Regions from separate parts of the Homo sapiens genome. Here all the other regions are linked to region 1. Evidence: promoter capture Hi-C in human tissues and cell types (Jung and others, 2019). All regions are on one chromosome and are shown on one strand. Each heading gives the region's core, a stretch centred on a gene start or on the middle of the fragment in contact. The rest is flanking DNA. Distances are from core to core; before and after follow the strand shown. Region 1 holds the start of PTX4 (pentraxin 4). Region 2 holds the start of CEMP1 (cementum protein 1). Region 3 holds the start of FLYWCH1 (FLYWCH-type zinc finger 1).

Evidence for each region. Contacts are between HindIII fragments. The study calls those that stand out against the background at their distance.
Region 2: the fragment with the promoter of CEMP1 here is called in contact with the fragment with the promoter of PTX4 in region 1 in 1 of the 25 tissues and cell types used here (dorsolateral prefrontal cortex).
Region 3: the fragment with the promoter of FLYWCH1 here is called in contact with the fragment with the promoter of PTX4 in region 1 in 1 of the 25 tissues and cell types used here (spleen).

The regions. Positions count from the first base shown.
Region 1 is chr16:1,486,891-1,490,251 of GRCh38, forward strand. PTX4 (pentraxin 4) reads right to left here and starts at 2,054. Exons shown (of 3, transcript NM_001328608.2): 1 at 1,879-2,054; 2 at 426-1,080. The coding sequence starts at 2,019. The HindIII fragment of the contact is 5,905 bases long and covers 1,423-3,361 here.
Region 2 is chr16:2,529,563-2,533,052 of GRCh38, forward strand. It overlaps CEMP1 (cementum protein 1), which reads right to left and starts at 1,846. Exons shown (of 1, transcript NM_001048212.3): 1 at 473-1,846. The coding sequence starts at 1,511. The coding sequence ends at 768. AMDHD2 (amidohydrolase domain containing 2) reads left to right here. Exons shown (of 11, transcript NM_001330449.2): 11 at 1-1,855. The coding sequence ends at 1. It overlaps MIR3178 (microRNA 3178), which reads right to left and starts at 2,443; the gene lies at 2,360-2,443. RefSeq lists enhancers at 2,249-2,298, 3,077-3,490, 3,079-3,128. The HindIII fragment of the contact is 25,225 bases long and covers 1-3,490 here.
Region 3 is chr16:2,910,587-2,913,910 of GRCh38, forward strand. FLYWCH1 (FLYWCH-type zinc finger 1) reads left to right here and starts at 1,345. Exons shown (of 10, transcript NM_001308068.2): 1 at 1,345-1,568. RefSeq lists silencers at 1,096-1,155, 1,206-1,515, 1,536-1,685, 1,716-1,815, 1,789-1,978. The HindIII fragment of the contact is 21,473 bases long and covers 1-2,996 here.

The DNA.
Region 1 (3,361 bases), core at 804-3,303:
ATTTCATGACTCACAACAGCGCAGGTTTAGTGTTTCACATTTCTGGCGGTCACAAGGCCAACACGGTCTCCCAGGGCTCAAATCAGGTGTGGACAGGGCTGGTTCCTCTGGAGGCTCCAGGAGAAACCATCTCCCGCCCTTTCCAGCTTCCAGAGGCGCCTGCACCCTTCGGCGTGGGGCCTCCTCGTCTGTGCATCCCGCCACCTCTGCTTCTGCCCTCACGCCCTCCTCTGACTGTGTTCCTCCTGCCTCCCCTTAGAAAGCCTCTGTGATGACGGTGGGCCACCCCCCCCGATGATCCGAGACCCTCTCCCCATCTCCCGGCCCCTAACTGAACCTCTTTTGAGAAGCCTTTTCCAGGGGGCCTGGTCTAAGGAGGAGCTGGAGGGAAGCCTGGCCGTGAGCTGGGAGCCTGTGGTACTTACTCTCTCCTGGCACCTGGGGGGACCATGCCTGCTGCCGAGGGTCTTTTGGGGCAGTCCCACTGAGTACCCGATGGCTGCCTGAGGCTGGAGGCTCCCGCCTCCCTTGGAGAGGGGCCGAGGAGTCCTGTGGGGGGCCCCTGTGCTCAGAGGCAGCTCGGAGCTCCTGCCTGTCCCTCTGAAGCTTCAGGGAGGTCGGGCCCAGCTCCTCAGGCTGGGTTGGGGTTGGGACCAGGGCCGGCCCGAGGGCTGCAGTGCCAGGGTGGGCCACGGGCAGCCGCCCCTCCAGAGCAGCCAGCCTGGCGCCCTGGCTGTGGACGAGGCCCTCCAGGCGTGCCAGTGAGTCCTGCAGGGCGTCCCTCTGGGCCTTGTGTGCCTTCCTTTCCCGGGCCCGCTGCTGGCTCCTCTCGCCCAGGGTGAGGTCCAAGGCCCGCAGCCGCGTGTCTACTTTCCGGCCTCGGCGCTGCAGCTTCCTCACCCAGGCCTTGAGCTGCGCCAGCTCCCCCTGCACCGAGGCCTGTGACCGGTTGACTGCCTGAGCCACAGCCTGGCTCTCTTCCGCCAGGCTCCGGAACCGGACGTCAACGTTGTAGGACACGTTGTAGTTGCTGGCGATGTTCTGCAGGTGTGTCCAGGTCACCTCCTGGAATCTCCGGAACTGTAAGGAGGACACGGTGATGATGGGGCGGGCCGGGCCGGGCCGGCTGGGCGGGACGGGAAAGGCTTTGCCCTCTCAAGTTGGGAGCAGCGGCCGCGTGCCCGGGCCACGGCCAGCACTGGCTATCTGCCCACCGATTTGATCCCCACTGCGATGCCGTGAGATGTGGTGGGTGCCAGGGACTGACCCCAGGCCATGCAGCTGCACCACGTGGGGTGTGGACTCCAGGCCCACAGCTGGGGCTCTGATCCCCACCGCTCACCCCATAACCACCGGCAAGTCACTTTCCCTCGTGATTCCAGCTCCTGCCTGTGAGCAGGGGACGGCAGGGTGGCCTCATGAGTGCTTTACGAGGCCCAAACAGGAAGCACCCAGCGCAGGCCCGACAGGCCCACAGCACTCCGGAACTGTCCGTGGACCCCGCGTGGGAGTCCGGGAGGCCGTTCACACCGACTGCCACAAGGTGGACCTGTGACCTCCCAGTTTCCACTCCCCATGACACTACCCGGCCCCCATGGCCCCCAGTTCCCCTGACTCCCTTCCAGACCCCCTTCTAGCCTCTGGCCCCACCTGACCCCCACATGTTATGAGGCTTGTGTCCTGTGTGAGTGGAGCCCAGCTCAGCTCTTCCCTGGTGTCCAACTGCAGGTGAAATAATCTTCATGGATGGAAAGAGCGTCACACGCGGTGTTCGTGTCCGCCAAGCCCTGATGTTTACCAATCTGCTTCTGTAACATCCGTCTTCCATCTGCTGCCAATTTAAAAACCCGACTGCGCCATGTCAGGGGTATAACTTGCCTGTTCCTCCAGCCTACGGAGCCTCTCGAAAAACGGTTTCCTGGGCCCCACTGGGGCGGCTTCCTGCGATGAAGCCCCATGTAGATATATAGGCACAAAAACAAGGAAGAAAGACAAGGTCTTCCTCCACGAGCAACCCATCCGGAGAGACGGCAAGGCCCCAGCAGTCTCCCTCCAGCCGCAGGAGAGGGTGAAGGTGGCTCCGTGGGTCTGTCTTGTGTCTCGTCCCCCCAGCTCTCCTGTTGAGTGGTTTTCCTTCTTTGGCCCTGGCTGGATGTCAGGTTCTTCCTGCCGCCTCCATGAAAGGCATCTGCCTTCAAGCCAGTGGGCTCTGAGACTTGCAGGTTCCTAAGGAGACAAGCTTAAAACAGATGCAAACAGTTTCTTTGAAGAATCATTCAGCTGGGTGCAAGCCCGCGGGCAGGAGGCGATGGCTTTAACAGGAGCACATGGACTTGTGCTCCCGAGAAGTCGAAGCAAGACAGGGAACCCGACGGGGGCTGGGGAGTCAACAGAGCCAGGTCTGCACAGGCACCCATCACCCAGGCCGTGCACGGCTGCATCCTGGGAGGCCCCGTCTCTCTCAGTAAAGCAATGGAAATGTGACTGGGAGCCACCTTAATTAATTAATTATTATTATTATTTGAGATGGAGTCTCGTTCTGTTGCCTAGGCTAGAGTGCAATGGCGCAATCTCAGCTCACTGCAACCTCTGCCTCCCCGGCTCAAGCGATTCTCCTTCCTCAGCCTCCTGCCTCCTGAGGAGCTGGGATTACAGGCGTGCTTTACCATGCCCGGCTAATTTTAGTATTTTTAGTAGAGATGGGGTTTCACTATGTTGGTCAGGCTGGTCTCAAACTTCTGACCTCATGATTTGCCTGCCTCAGCCTCCCTAAGTGTTCGGATTACAGGCATGAGCCACTGCGCCTGGCCAATTAATTAATTTTTTTGACGGAGTCTTGCTCTGTCACCCAGGCTGGAGTGCAGTGGTGCGATCTCCGCTCACCACAAGCTCCGCCTCCTGGGTTTAACGGATTCTCCTGTCTCAGCCTCCCAAGTAGCTGGGATTACAGGTATGTGCCCCCACATCCGGCTAATTTTTGTATTTTTAGTAGAGACGGGGTTTCACCATGTGGGCCAGGCTGGTCTCAAACTCCCGACCTCAGGTGATCCACCCGCTGTAGCCTCCCGAAATGCTGGGATTACAGGCATGAGCCACCGCGCCCGGCCAATTTTTGTATTTGTAGTAGAGACGGGGTTGCCCCATGTGGGCCAGGCTGGTATTTTTGGTTACAGGTTGTGTACTGGCTTGAATGAGACCCTCCTAAAAACACACATAAGCCCCAGGCAGGGCCTTATGTGGAAAAGGTCTCTGCGGATGTCATGAAGGATTTTGAGATGAGACCATCCTGGATTATCCAGGTGGCCCTAAAGCCAATGACAGGGGTACAAGAGACAGAGGAGGAGGCACAGAGGACACGGCC
Region 2 (3,490 bases), core at 596-3,095, 1.0 Mb after region 1:
ACAAGGACCTCGGCTGAGAGGACACCTGGCCGCAGCGGGATGCCATCAGGGCCGGGTGGTTGGGGAGCTGGTCTCCAGGGAGTGAGTCGGGAGCCCTGCTGGATTGATGCCCAGGGCCTGTGCGGCCGCCCTGGAGGCGGTGGCTGGGATAAACGTGCACCCAGCAGGACTCGCCTTGGCTCCGGGTTTTGCTTGTGCTCACATGTGGCACCATCCTTGGTTGCCCTCCTGGAGAAGGCATTCACGGCCTGGGGTGGGATGGCTGGGCTGTAGTTTAGCCTGGGCCTTGGGCCCCAGTGGGGGACAGGGCCTGTCTGCATGAAGTGGACCGGAGACCTGCAGACCCCAGGAAAGTGTCACTATGGGAGGGAGGGGCAGGCAGTCAGTGGCTGGTGCCATGGGGTGAAGCCACCATGGGCTGGGGGTGAAGAGCCGGCAGGAAGGGGACCAGTCACAGGGAGTGTGGACAGTCAGGGGTTTGCTTTCTGCTCCTGAGTTGGGGTGTGCAGCGTGGAGCCCACAGCCTGGTTCTGGGCCAGGGCACAGTGCCAGGGGCTCCGCTCTGACCTCCAGGAGGGAGACTGGGCCCGGGACCCCTGTTTTCTGCTCCCTGGACTGCCTAGCCCTGAGTGCCACGGATGACCAGCGTTCTGTTTTCTCTTCTCAATAACCCTATCTCTTCACACATCCCCAGGCCCAGTGCTTGCCGGCTGTGGTGACCCTGCCTGGTGCTGGAGGGCAGTATGGGAGGCACCAGTGTGCCCTGCTCACCCCATTAGTGTCATCCTGCCATCTTCTGTGTCCCCTTGGCCCTGGCACACACCCATGTGGCAAACACGGGCCGTGAGGCTCCCTGAACAGCTTCGAGGCGGGTGGGCTTCTGGAGCCCTCTTGGCTCTGAGGACAGCCACAGTGGGGTCAGACGTCAGGGATTGGTGCAGCCCCACGTCAGGGGTGATTGTCTTGACTTTCTCTCCATTTGAGTTCTGGGGTGGGTGGCTCCCTTCCCCCTTGCTTACAGGTGCTGTCCTGGGCACAGGAGGTACGCGCCTGGCTCTGCCACTGTTCTCTTCCCTCTGCTGCAAAGCCCAGTTAAGGAAATGTCTCCAGGTCCAAAGAGATAGGATGGTCTGGGCCCCACCTGTTGGAAGGGAACAGCCAGGGAAGAACCACCTGCCTGGGCAGGGCCTCGCCTGAGGGAGGGCCTGGGGCAGGGCACAAGGGGTTGATCTCAGCCCACAAGCCCCAGGGGCAGCCCAGGAAAGCAGGCGACGGATGTGGATCCTGACCTCCTGAGAGGTGTGAGGTGCAGGGATACCCACCTCTGCCTTGACGGCCGCGCACCCCTTAGGAAGTGGCTGTCCAGCGCCTGCCTGTGCTGGGCCTGGGAGAGGAGCTGTCTTGCCAGGGCTCCCAGGCAGGGAGAGGCAGGTGAGGTTCTCAGCCGATGTGTTAGAGGTTGAGCATCGCCTGTGCCCAGCTTGCTGGCTGTCAGTGCTTGATGTGCCCATCCTCAGCTAAAACCCAGAGCTGGCATGTTGGTCATCCCCACCTCAGACGGGACGCCCAGTCCAGAGCTGGTGAGCCCTGGGCCAGCCTTTGGGCCTGGCCTGCCCCATTCACCGGCCAGCGCCCCACCTCCCTGGCTGGAGGGTCGGGGAGGGGCTGGCAGAGATGGTTGGTCCACAGGGCTAGCCCTGGGTGGTGGGAGAGGGGCCCAGGGTCAGGGTGAGAGAGAGCTGGGCCAGGGAGCTGCTGCAGGATGATTTTGAGGTGTGGGGGAAGCACTCTTGGTTGGTTTTGGTTTGCTTTTTAAAAATTGTGGTAAAATACATAACAAAAGTAACTATCGTAACCTGAGCAGTTCTGTGACATGAAGTGAATTCACTGCTTTGTGTGACCTTGGCCACCATCATTCCCCACCACTCACTCCCGCTGGGCTCCCAGCCCTGCCCCACCATTCCGCTCCCTCTACAGCTATGGGTTTTACAAAGAAGGATGCAGGGCGCCCTGACTGCGGGGTGAGGGGCAGGCCTGCCCGCGGTGTGGGCATTCGCTGAAGGGGGACGCCCAGGTGTCTGCCTGAGTTACGGGTTGGGGGGTCGGGCATGTGGGGAGGGATGGAGTTGGAGGTGCATGCTCTCAGAGCTGGTAGGGGTGGCCCGTTTCGTCCCGTGTGTGAACTGGAGATGAGACCCGGCGCCTGCGATCCCGCAGACCGCGCCCGGCCGGGTGTCACTTGTGGGCGCACGCTGCCGGGATGCTGGGCCGAGCCCGCGGTTTAAGACCCAGATCTCAGCCAGGTCCCTTTCGCCGTCCGAGCCTCTGCACCTCGTGGGCTCCGAGCACATCCAGGCCAGAGACTGCGTTTGGGGCGTGGGCACGGGAGACCGTCATCAGCCAGGACGCTCTCGACCGATCCGGCCGCGCCCCGCCCAGCCTCGTAGCGCAGGCGCTGAGTCCAGGCTGACGCGCAACTCTGGGAGCGTTGCGGCACGCGGGGCCTTGCCTACTGTGGGAGGGGCTTCTGGGGGCGGGCTTCTGTCGGGCCAATTAGGATCGCCGCAGGGAAGGCACGCGCCGCGGCTGAGCAACAGGGGCGCGCGTCACCTTCTCTAGTTAACCCGCGCGGCCCCGGGCACAGAGCCCGAGGCTGCGCGGTCCCCGGCGGGCCCGCGGACCCCCCCCATCTCTGCGCCCCCCACATCTCTGCGGACCCCGCCTCGCCCCAGCCCTCCCATCCACAACCCTCACAACCTTGCATACCCCGCTACGCTCCCCACCGCGCCCTCACATTCCTGCAGACCCCGTCTCCCCACAACGCTCCCCGCCAACGCTGCGGAGCTCCGCGTCGCCCCAGCGCTCCCTGCCAAGCCCCCCACACCCCTGTAGACCCCGCCTCGCCCCAACCCTCCGAGCTGCTCCCCTTATACCCTTGCGGACCTAGTTTGTTTCGTCCCAGTCCTCCCCGTCGCGTCTCCCACATCCCTGCGGACCTCCCCGCGCCTCGCCTCTCCCTTCTGTTACGTATCACGCACAGGTGGATCCCACTACGACCCAGCTTGGCTCCTGTCCCGCACCTCCGCACCTGGCCTCTAGCCCCGCCCTCACTGTCTTGGGAAATGAAGCGGAGGGGTGGGCCGGACACTCTAGAAGCACCCTGGCTCGGAGCTTCCCTAGCTCGGAGTTGGTTTGGAGCCCAGGCTAGGGACCCAGGGTGGGCGCAGCAGGGGAGATTGGCACCAGAAGCGTGGAGGAAGGGCACCTCTTCAGCCCGGCTTTTCCGCCCCTGGAGTCTGGGACAGCTCCGGAGCGTCCGGGTACTCCCTCCCAGACTGGCCCTGTTCCTTTTATCACATTTATGTCACACACGTTTTTTCTAAATGGGTTTACACTTTTGCTATTACTTTGCAGTTCGGTTTGTGTGTGTGTGACGGAGCCTGGCTGTGTTGCGCAGGCTGGAGTGCAGTGGTGCGATCTCTGCTCACTG
Region 3 (3,324 bases), core at 95-2,594, 1.4 Mb after region 1:
AGGCGAAAGAAGTCAGTCACAAGAGACCACATATTTGTTGCATGATTTCATTTATATGAAATATGCAGAATACGCAAATCTATAAAGACAGAAAATAGATCATATTACTTAGGGCTGGGGTGATTAGCAAATTGGAGGGTGGTGGCTAAAGGTTTCTTCTTGGAGTGATGAAAGGTTTTAAAACTGACTATGGTGCTGTTTGCACAACTCTCTGACTATACTACATATCATTTAATTGTACACTTTAAATGGGAGAAATGCATGGTATGTGAATTATATTTCAATAAAGATCTTACCAAAAAATAGTAAGCTGATTGTGTTAACATAGTTTTATGAAAAAGTACAATATTTTCCCAAAGAAATTTAGTGAGACGAGTGACATAGTTATACATTTTTGCAAATATCTTTGTTGCGGGCTTAAAAGAAGACTACTGGCTCTCATACCTGCTTCTACATTCAATGTGTTACATCACACGTCATGCAGACTTTGTAATACTATGTAATATTTCTGCTTTTTTTTTTTTAGACACAGTCTCACTCTGTCGCCCAGGCTGGAGTGCAGTGGCGCCGTCTCGGCTCACTGCAACCTCCGCCTCCCGGGTTCAAGTTATTCTCCTGCCTCAGCCTCCCGAGTAGCTGGGATTACAGGCGCCCAGTACCACGCCCGACTAATGTTCGTATTTTTAGTAGAAACGGGGTTTCACCATGTTGGCCACGCTGTTCTCGAACTCCTGACCTCAGGTGATCCACCCGCCTCGGCCTCCCAAAGTGCTGGGATTACAGGCGTGAGCCACCGCGCCCGGCCCAGGTATTTTTTTGTCGTTGTTGGCTTTCTGATGTAAGAAACAACTGTCCCTTCTCCCCCGTTGACTTATTTCCTTCAGTTTGGACTCATATCGTAGTCAAGGTTATAATCCGTTGCTATCGCTGTTTATTTGAATCTCACACTGGTTCCGCTCTGGGGTAGGGTCACTGGGGGCGTCAATGAGATGCATGAGAATCGCCTTCCCACGGGGTCAGGAAACTGACAGGCCCAAGAGTGCATCTCAGCAAACGCTCCGTTTCCTGCGGGCAGCCTCAGATACTGGGGACCGTCCTGGGGTCTCAATTAAGCGCCCCCTACCCCAGCCCCTTTACGCCAAGAGCGTCCTGTTCAGCTCCCCCATCCTAGCTCCGCCCCTGGACGCCGCCGTCCAATCTCGGGATGGCCCCGCCTTTTCCGTGAGTTACGTCCCCGCCCCCATGCGCTGACAGGCCAGGCCTGCGGCTCGGCGCCGCGCAGGGAAGACCCGGAGCAGCGGTTTACCTAAGGAACGGGCCGCGCGGTCTTGCTGCGCATGCTCTGAAGTAGCGCGCCTGAGCGTTCCGCAAGGCCGGCTCCCCGGCGGGGTCGCGCGCGCGGTCACGGGGCTCGCTCCCGAGGGGCAGGTCGGGGCTGGGAGCTGGTGCCCGGGTCGGGGTGGCGGCGGCGGCCTGGGTCGCGGGGTCGACGCTCGCTGCTGCAGCGGCAGAGGCTGAAGGATCCGCCGCGGCGCTGTCGCGGGAGAGGGAGGGCCCCGCTGCCGTCGGTGAGGACAGGCCCCTGCGGGCGGGGAATGTCCCGCGTCCCCGGCGTGGACGCGCCCGCAGCCCGGCTCTCCCGGGGGTCCCGAGGGTTGCGGGTGCTGGGGAGGGGTCTGCGTCCCGGCGCTCAGGCCGCCTCCTGTGGGGTCTCCCGCGATTCCCTCCTTGCTCCTCGCCCCTCCATCCCCACCCCCCCGTCCCCTGGCCTAAGCCCGACACCCCCACATCAAGGATCCCCGCACTCGTCCGCCGTTTCCTGGCGGTGTCTGCCCCGCCCAGCGCTGCCTTCCTGGACCCGCAGCATCAGCCCCGTCCCACGGTTGCAGCTCGGGCGGTCCCAGTGACCTTGCACTTTTGCGGGTCGGGACGCACCCCGCTCCCGCTTCTGACCCTATAGATCTCCGGTGACGGCTTTCGAACTTTGTTGACCCACAGCCGACACTGAGAAATGCCTTTTACGCGTGTACTCTGTGCCTGTGGGTCTGGATGACTGAAGCACAAGTTTAAAGGGAGACGCTTGTTTAAGCTCACATGACGCAGCTGGATCTGTTCGGATTAAATTCCGTTCCATTCTCTTCCACCCCGTTCCAAAAGGCTGCTGCTAACCCATGGAGCCTGCACATAACGGGTCTGACGTAGTTGAAACCCTCGCTCTAAACCCTGCCTGTTGTTCCTTTATTCCTTGTACTGGAAGCTGAACTCCCATAGTCAGATAATCATGTGCAAACTCCAATTCCAACGAAATGGCTTATTTTTATTTGCATATTTCTGCTTTCCAAGGGCCAATATGATTTCCAGGGCTTGATCTAGATTTTCTCGTGTGATTATATCATGTTTCTCTTGTTCCTTTCCCAAGTGCTACTGGCGGGACGTGTGGAAGGAACAAGGCTGAGGTTGGGGCTAGATTGCGGAGTGTTTATGACGCCCAGCTGATGATGCACTAAGGCTGGAGATGGAGATGATTTAATTGGGGAGAGACATGCTGAAAGTTAAGCTTTAGGAAGAGTGACCTGTCAGCACCCTATGTGGAGAATTGGAGTGGCTGCTTGCCAAAGCTGGCAAGATCGTTCAGAGGCTTTGGCTTGGGCTAAAGAGGTCGTGGTAAGGGATCATGTCCTGAGTTGGTGGGAGTGGGAAGGAGAGGGAAGATGGGTATATCAGGCATAGAGGGAGAGAGATTTGAGGATGCATTAGGCTGTGGGAAGGAGTAAATAAACTTATATTATGATGGAGGGTGACTGGGGAATACCGGGCTGGGGGGGTCTCATTGGCCAAGCTCTCCCTTTCTGTGCGCTCTAATTTCTAAGTTGCTTTGGAGCTGTGGCTCTTGGGCAATTCTGCACCCCAGGGAACGTTCTGCAGTGTTGGTGGTCACAACGTGTGGTAGGGCATGACAGTGGGATCTGGCAGGTAGAGACCGGGGTTGCTGCTGAACACCCCACGCTGAACAGGACAGCCTCCCACAGCAGAATCATCCGGCCCAAAATGCCAACGGTGCTGAGATTGTGAAGTTCATTTTTAGAGTAAATTTTAATTATCTGGGCATCTCTGCCACCTTCAACCTCTTCAGGAGGAATGTCTGTGTGCACCCACTGAGCCTGTGATGTCACCATAGTGGTTCATGTCTGAGGCAAGTGCACCTCCAACGCTCATGGTTCAGTTGCGGGTAGGTGGGAGGTGGGTAGACACTGGAGTCATCCAGGAGCTTTAAAAAAAAATTTTTTTAGTAGAAATGGTGGGGGCGAGGGGCAGGTCTCACTA